Linked DNA regions of Homo sapiens: all the other regions are linked to region 3. Evidence: promoter capture Hi-C in 16 types of primary human blood cells and fetal thymus (Javierre and others, 2016). All regions are on one chromosome and are shown on one strand. The core of a region is centred on a gene start or on the middle of the fragment in contact, and the rest is flanking DNA. Distances in the headings are between cores, read along the strand shown. Region 1 overlaps ATP8A2 (ATPase phospholipid transporting 8A2). Region 2 overlaps ATP8A2 (ATPase phospholipid transporting 8A2). Region 3 holds the start of SHISA2 (shisa family member 2).

What was found. The method cuts DNA at HindIII sites, captures the fragments that hold promoters and counts their contacts. A CHiCAGO score of 5 or more calls a contact.
Region 1: a fragment that was not itself captured here is called in contact with the fragment with the promoter of SHISA2 in region 3 in 4 of 17 cell types (activated CD4 T cells, naive CD4 T cells, non-activated CD4 T cells and 1 more); the score reaches 6.4 in activated CD4 T cells.
Region 2: a contact is called between a fragment that was not itself captured here and the fragment with the promoter of SHISA2 in region 3, in 6 of 17 cell types (naive CD4 T cells, activated CD4 T cells, non-activated CD4 T cells and 3 more). The highest score is 7.6, in naive CD4 T cells.

Annotation. Positions count from the first base shown.
Region 1 is chr13:25,857,870-25,860,569 of GRCh38, reverse strand. ATP8A2 (ATPase phospholipid transporting 8A2) reads right to left here. Exons shown (of 37, transcript NM_016529.6): 31 at 314-375. Among named protein-coding and RNA genes, the nearest start is that of SHISA2, 190 kb to the left of the region's middle. The HindIII fragment of the contact is 1,622 bases long and covers 586-2,207 here.
Region 2 is chr13:25,878,317-25,881,016 of GRCh38, reverse strand. All of the region lies in intron 33 of ATP8A2 (ATPase phospholipid transporting 8A2), which reads right to left. Among named protein-coding and RNA genes, the nearest start is that of SHISA2, 170 kb to the left of the region's middle. The HindIII fragment of the contact is 5,179 bases long and covers 1-2,700 here.
Region 3 is chr13:26,050,766-26,053,465 of GRCh38, reverse strand. It overlaps SHISA2 (shisa family member 2), which reads left to right and starts at 1,450. Exons shown (of 2, transcript NM_001007538.2): 1 at 1,450-2,700. The coding sequence starts at 2,491. LINC00415 (long intergenic non-protein coding RNA 415) reads left to right here. Exons shown (of 2, transcript NR_146971.1): 2 at 794-1,190. The HindIII fragment of the contact is 15,847 bases long and covers 1-2,700 here.

The DNA.
Region 1 (2,700 bases), core at 147-2,646, 190 kb after region 3:
TTTGCCCTTTTCTTAGCTTGGGAGATACCACCTTCCTGAGTGTTGTTTTCCTTTGCAGGTAGGTGTAAAATGGTCATTTGAAGAATGGGGAAATCTGTTAACCACCTGCCCAGAAACCTTCACTTGGCATAACCTTCAGAAACGATGATGTAAGCATTTCACAACCATTCTGAACTTTGAAGGATATATAAAATACATTTTGAAGATTTGAAATAAATAATAATAATGAGGAAGGCCCTTTTTAAGGGTTTAGAGAAGTGCAAGCCACACATAAGCTGTTTAAGAATGGCTTAATAAACAGAGATAAACTTACTGTGTAAACAATATTTCCAACAAATAAATAGTCGGTAGCATGACCACTTGTCAACACAGTATCTGAAAAACAAAGAAGTTACTATTAACATCCAAGAAGCTGAGCATGGCCACCTATTTAACTCAGAGCATTAAACAGGGAACTTTAGGAACATCAATCAACTCACAGAGTATTTCAAAATCCCATCCTGTGACTCTAATGCTTACTTCTCTTTCTAATGATGAACTTTTTCATCTTATATTCTCTCCAAATGAAGCAAATAAAGTCAAGCTTCCAACCAACCAACCAACCAAACGCTTGATCTGCACTGAAATTTACATTTTTGTAAACATTAAAATTTATCTTTGTCCAGTTTGTTTTAAAAAAAGGAGTAAGAACATACTCATCTATCTTTATTAAGTGCCATCGATGTTGGGGCTTTTTCCAGGTATTCTTTATGATTCATCTTTACATTTTGCTAAATTGGAATTATGGACCAATAAAAAGATAACTACATGCATATTAAACCAATTCATCATGACTGAACTTGGAAAGAATTTTGGGGGTATTTATTACTCATGTTCTCATCTGCAACTGTATGAGCTTCCGGAGTCTATCACCTGGGGGAACGCAAGCACTCCAATGACAGAAGTTTAGAAAATAGAAGAAGGATTTTAAGCCTCAGTTTTCCTATATTTTCCTTTTTTTTTTTTTCTTTTCAAGGATGGCTATGACTATAACAACCACTAAGGCAGAATGCTAATAGAGTTGTTTCATCATCTCCGCTACACCTGCACAGAGAAGTCTGTTTTTTATCCTGAGTGGTCAGAGCCTATTTTAATATCAGGCTTAGTTTCCTTGGATGACACTGCCAACCTTCCTTTATTCTTATTTCTTTCAACTTCTTCCAACTTTTGTTTTAGATTTTGGGGTACATGCGCAGGTTTGTTACAAAGGTATACTGTGTGATGCTGAGGTCTGGAGTACAAATGACTCTGACACCCAGGTAGTAAGCATAGTACCCAATGGGTAGTGTTTTTTTTTGTTTTTGTTTTGTTTTGTTTTGTTTTGTTTTTGAGACAGAGTCTCGGTCTGTCGCCCAGGCTGGAATGCAGTGGTACAATCTCGGGTCACTGCAACCTCTGCCTCCTGGATTCAAGCAATTCTCTGCCTCAGCCTCCCAAGTAGCTGGGATTACAGGTGCCCGCCACCATGCCTGGCTAATTTTTGTATTTTTAGTAGAGACAGGGTTTTACCATCTTAACCAGGCTGGTCTCGAACTCCTGACCTCATGATCCACCCGCCTCAGGCTCCCAAAGTGCTGGGATTACAGGCGTGAGCCACCGTGCCTGGCATCCCAATGGGTAGTTTTTCAAGCCTTTCCTCTCTCCCTCTCTTGTCAAGTTCTCCGGCATCTATTGTTCTCTTCTTTATGTTCATGTGTACTCAATGTTGAGTTCTGACTTATAAGAGACAACATGTGGCATTTGGTTTTATTCTTTTTTTATACTCAGTTCTGGTCTGTGGCCCGCAGGCTGGGTAGATAAGGATGCTTGTGTTCAAATTTCCAACCAGTAGCTGCTATACATACATATCTGGGCTCGCAGATTTTCCCAATGCTTGTTGAACAATCCCACTCTTATTAGAGAATCAATATCTATTTATTTTCCTAAAACAGCATAATGATGGAGTCATAAGTGGAACTGCAGAAGCATGGGTCTCCGAATCCAGCCCCTGGGCACACACAGTCTCCCGATTCCAGCCAGGTAAATCTGTGGATAAGGGAAGATGAACCAGGAAAGCAACATCACGGGCTGCACTAAACGGAGGCCCCGCTGCTGGGTAAAGTAAGAGTTATATCGGGAGAACGGGGCGAGACATGGCCACTGACTTAAAAAGGAACGGTCTCAAAGCTTAGGGGAGAGGGGACAAGGACAGACTGGAGCTTAGGCATGACTTCATTAAAAGGGAAGGAAGGGAGCAAGTTAAAAAAGTAAAAGAAAGGCTGAATTAATCCCAAGAAGGCAACATGCTGATGTATTAGCAAATAGTTACTCAAAATTGTAGGAGTTCACTTTTCAGGAACTGGCCTTAAGACTGTTTTACTAACAGGTGCAACACTTTTAAATGCCTGCCTCAATGAAGAAATACTTCAGTTTAGTATGGAGACCATCTCTTTGATTCTAACATAGATTATAGCCTTGAAATGAATAAGATTCTTCTTTTATGTACTCAACAAATATTTACTTACAGCCTATTTTATGCCAGGCACTATTATGAAAACCGGGAAGAGAAGGTCCCTGTTTTTATACAGCTTGTGGTCTAGTGAGGAGACAGGACATAAAACCTTAAACAGATACACGATAAAATGTCAGGTGTAATAAGTGCTATGAAGAAATACATTAGCT
Region 2 (2,700 bases), core at 34-2,533, 170 kb after region 3:
GACCTGAAACTGTTTGCCCAGGTCTACACAAACTCAATCTTTGGCTGCTTCAACAGAGAAAGGCTTTCATGCTGAATTTTGCACAGAAAAGTAGATTTGGGGAATTTTTCTGAGGAAAGATTGAATTTATCATGAAACATATTTCATCAAGAAACTGGTAAAATGAGCCACCTTTTTACCCAAACCACAAAGACTGCAAATTCCTTTGCTAGAAAAGTTGGCTGCTTCTGTTGAAAAGATTAACTTATGCTGAATAGCTTTGGGGGCATGAAGGGATAGGTGAGGTTGCCTTTTTCATTTAGGGGAACGTAACTTGTAACAATAAATAGTAGCTCCTGGGAATGGAAAAATGGTAGCTTATCAATACCATTTCCTTATTGTAAAGGTTCTTCCAGCAGATTTATATGAACTGACCTGTGTTCTAGAAAGAAGTTCACAATGCCTAAATTCTGCTGCAAAAACAAAAGTCATCTGGAACCTTTCAATACCCCTGAGGCCTGTCAGGATTATGGCTGGAGAGCAACTTTCCTTGCTTGTAATAACTGATTTACTTAAGTGTGAAACTACCAGTGCCTTCATTAATAAAATGACATAATACTAATCACATTTTTCCCCTCTTCCTTTTTTTTTTTTTTTTTTGTTGTTCCTGACTGGACAGTATCCTGTGAAAACAAAGAAATTACACTTTTTAATCTGATGGGACATGTGGCTACTTCACAAAAAGCAAAGTTTGCCAAGAGATAGCCATCTATGGATTAGCCGCTGGATTTTCTTGGAAGCGTGAGGGAAAGGAAAATTGTTATTCAAATTGCTTTAGACACTGACGAATTATGTATGATTACATGTAGTCAATTTCTGATCTTAGGATTATCTGATAACTGATTATTCCTTGCTGTCACTGTGCCCAAAACAGTACCCCATGGACAGGCCACTCCATGGACAGGCCTACGCCGCTGTGGCTTTGTCTAGGAGGCCACCTCTTCTTCACCACCTACCTTTTTAAAGTGTATCAAGCTCAGGTCTGCCTTATTTTTCTCACGGGAAAAACTCTTGCTTTGTCTGTGTGCATTACTGAATTTTCAAAAAAGTTTAATTTCTTAAACTTAATCAATTATCGATTGAGTTAGGCAAATATGTCTTCTCACTGGGAGAAGATATTCAAGAAAAAGTCTAGGATTTTCCTCCTAACTCTTTCCCCTATGGAAGCCAAATGAAAAAGACATTTTCCTCCTATTATTTGCAGGAGAATGTGGGTATCGCCAGGACTGTCCTAAAACACATTTGGGGCTGTTTGCATAAATCTGCTTGAAGAACCACTGCAGAAAGGAAACAGCTGGTGCACAGTGGGAGACCTGGGCTTGTCCATCAGATGCGCCTGCCAGCACTGGCCACCTCAAAGATTACTTGGAGGGTGGAGTCCAGAATCCATCGCCAGCAGAGGTGCACATCCAGTGGTGGCAGTGCTAGGGTTGGGTCTTGATCAGGTGGTCCGAAGTAGCCTCCTTGGCTTCTACCAGCTTTCTCAGCCTGGTTCTTCGGCTTTTTCATATATTCTATGGATTGCATGATAACTGTCTATGCATTCTTTTTCTGTTTATTAAGTAACGTCCATTTTTTTCCTTCATTGTAACCAAAGATCCTGGCTGGCATATTTAATAAAGTTTAGCATGTTTAGGTTACAGCCCTGAACTTCTAAGGTCAAGGCCAGTGGCCAAGAGAGCCTCCTGCTGTCCCTCTCAGTAGCCACCTTCAATTAGTGACACCACTGGAGATATTGTCCCAGGTGCTCGATAAAGCATTTCTCAAAAAGAGTCACTAGCAGAGAATGAGAGTTTAAGATACGCTTTTGTGGGAATAAACCACAACAAAAGAAGATACACAAAGTCCTGATTCTTTGAGTTGACTTAAATTCTTGTCCTCAGAGCCAAATGCCCTCTGCTCTCCTGCCCCGTCCACATGCCCCATAGACCAAGTATGTGTGCACATGGCTTGTGCCCTCTGGGAGCAAATCGCATGGTGATCTGCAAGGAGACCGGTGGTAGAATGCTATAAATGCTGGGACACACAAACGACACAGCTGCAGGAGTGAACACTCATGACCCTGCTCTGGATGTGAGGGATGAGGGAGAGAGAGTGGGAAGGCAGCTGATGGTTTTAAGCTCCTGTGCCTGGGGAAGTGGTGATGGACGTGAGTGGAGACAGAGTGAGTGGAAGGTGCTGGGGCGATGGGAAGGCAGGAACTGTGCTTCAGAGAGTTGAGAGCCTGAGGTACTGGTTGTCAGAGGCGTTTGAACCACAGCAACTCCATCTTGAATAGGGGCTGGGTAAAATGAAGCTGAGACCTACTGGGCTTGCATTCCCAGACAATTAAGGCATTCTAAGTCACAGGATGAGATACAAGGTTGGCACAAAATACAGGTCATAAAGACCTTGCTGATAAAACAGGTTGCAATAAAGAAGCCAGCCAAAACCCACCAAACCAAGATGGTGACAGGTACGACCTCTGTTCATTCTCACTGCTACACTCCCACCAGCTCTGCCTATGGAATAGTCATTCTTTTATTCCTCTACTTTCTTAAAAAACTTGCTTTCACTTTACTCTATGGACTCGCCCTGAATTCTTTCTTGTGCAAGATCCAAGAACCCTCTCTTGGGTCTGGATCGGGACCTCTTTCCTGTAACACTGGGAGGCCAATGTGT
Region 3 (2,700 bases), core at 201-2,700:
GTCTTTTTGTCTGATTTCTGTATTTTACCCTGGAGACTTTAGGCCCTATTTGAAGGAAATGGCCATGCTGTCTGGCTTCTTGATGAGTCCCAGTACCCAGCACAGAGCACAGTACACTGTAAGTGCATGGCGTGTATTTCTTGAATGAATGATTTCTTGACATTGAAATTTTTTTTAGCTTACTAGCTTAAGACATTTGGTGAATAGTGCATTTAAAGTATATAATTTTGTGTAGCTTAAAACGATACACAACCAAAAAACTGCAAGAAAACAAAGTGCAATGCTTGGAGAGAGGTTTAGTGAAAAGAATAAGGTGTGTGTTGGGGAGCAGGGACATAGGGTAGGGTTTTTTTTCTTGGATTTGACATTGTTGGGGCAAGTGGAAGAATAATCAACAATGTCTGAATCTTCACATTAACCAGGCATACACAAGCATCCAATGGCTGCTTGAACCTGAGTGTCTTTGCTGTGAATAAAACTGCCTGTGTTCTGAAGTCATGGACTTGAAAGGGACCTTAGTGATCGTCACATCCTATGCTCCACTTTATAGATGAAGAAACTGAGACCAGAAAAACGCAGTGATTCCCTGCTAGTAGGGCTGGGTCTAGAATTCAGGTCTGCTGACTCCCAGACGGTGTGGGAAGGGGCATTCGTTCCTTTAAAAATAAGCACTGCTGCTTTAATAACATCAGCACCTGTTGTTCCAGCTTCTGCAAGAGAGAAGCTATTAATTTCTCCTTCATCAAAGCTGAATTTCTGGTCTGTCTGAACCTTGTTTTCTTCCTGACTGCAGCTGTCTAAACCACTAAGGCCACATGTTGGACGGAGGCACTTTCCTGCTGGAATCCGATAAATCACCACACCCAAATATAGAAAGAAAAAGGGACACAGATCATCCACACCGTGGCCGAATGTGTGACATCTTTGCTGAACTCTCTCCGTTCCACCTTGTGGTGGAGGCCTCCAGTCCACCAAACACAGCCCTAGGCGTGTGAACCCTGCCACAAACATCGGTGCTCTTCCTGCACAGGGCCTGGGACCAACCGTGGCCAGGACATCAGCTGCTGGAAGCCGAGAGAGTTCATCTGAGTGGCGATTTTATGATCTGCAGAGTGGAAAGTAATCATAATCCCTTGAGAAGTTTGCAGAATCGAACCGAATGTTGAATGCCAAAGATCTTCACAAAGCAAGTTGAGTTTCTTCCGTTATTATTGTTATTTGTGTTAGCGAGGCCTGGATTGCTTAGGTTGGGTTTCCTCCCGCGCCTATTCCAGCAGGCAGACCCCGCCCTTGGCCACACCTTTCTCCTTGCCCGGGGTAGGAAAGTGAGGGGCTGCCCGGCGCCCGCGGGCGTCCCTGAGGTCGGGGGTGGGGGGGAGCCGCGCAGCGCGCATGCGCGCCGGGGAGCCGCCGGCCTCTATAAGAGCGCGGCTCAGCGCGGCAGCGAGCGGAGTCGGAGCTGGTCTGGCGCCGGGCGGGGCGAGGCGAGGCTGTGGGCGGCTGCTGCGCTCGGCTTCTCCCGTAGCCCGGAGGAAAGAAACTTCCGTGGGAGGCTTCCATCGGTGCGCACACCTCCCGAGGGCGAGGCAGCGACCGGGAGAGGGAGAGCCGGCCGGAGGCTGCCGGGCTCCTGTGGGACCGCGCTGCAGCCGGGGAGGCGGAGAAGGGGAACCGGGGCGAGCCGCCCGCCTGGATCCGCGCCCAGCAGCAGCCGCGGCCGCCGCCAGCTGGGCAGGCTCCCGGGACTGCGGCTGGGGGCGCGCAGGACCCTCGCCTGCGTCCTGGACGTTCCCGGGGTCAGGAGCGCTCCCTCGGCGACGTGCTGGGAAGATTGGCCGTCGGCCCCGCCGAGTGGAGCGTCGGGGCTGCACCCCCGTGGGCTGCCCGGGCGGCCCGGCCGGAGCCATGCGGACCAAGTTCGGGGCAGAGGAGGCTGAGCGCGGCCGGCTGCGTCACTTGCTGCCCAGAGCCTTGCGTGCACTGCCCGCCTTCGCCCCTTCTACCCGCCCGAGGAGGGAATAAAGGAGGGGAGACGGGCCCTGATTCGCGCGCGGGACCCTGAGGCTTAAACCCTGCGCAGAGCCCTGGCTCCAGGTCCGCGGCGGCGCGCCCAGCGGTCATTCGGCTCGAGTGAGCATCCCTTCGGGGATGCTCAGGGAGGGTCCGGTTGCCAGTGAAACCTCCAGAGGCTTCCGGACGACAGCCCCGGGGGCCTTCTGACTGCATCCCGAGATTTCCATCAGCGAGTGCAACTCATAAGGCAGTCCCTAAGGGGACCGGGCCACCGGCTGAGGACGGGGATGGCTTAGGAGCTCCTGGACCTAGGGCCCGGCGTCGTCGCCTCCTGGGCGTCGCGGCAGAGGGGAGTGGCCCGCGCGGAAAGCGCCGCGGGACAGTCAGTGACGAGGCCCGGGGGTCGCCGGGGCCACGACTTCTCGGAGACCGTCCTGCGCTCTCTGGAGACGCGCTGTCCGCGCCCAGGGTGGTGCCATGTGGGGCGCTCGCCGCTCGTCCGTCTCCTCATCCTGGAACGCCGCTTCGCTCCTGCAGCTGCTGCTGGCTGCGCTGCTGGCGGCGGGGGCGAGGGCCAGCGGCGAGTACTGCCACGGCTGGCTGGACGCGCAGGGCGTCTGGCGCATCGGCTTCCAGTGTCCCGAGCGCTTCGACGGCGGCGACGCCACCATCTGCTGCGGCAGCTGC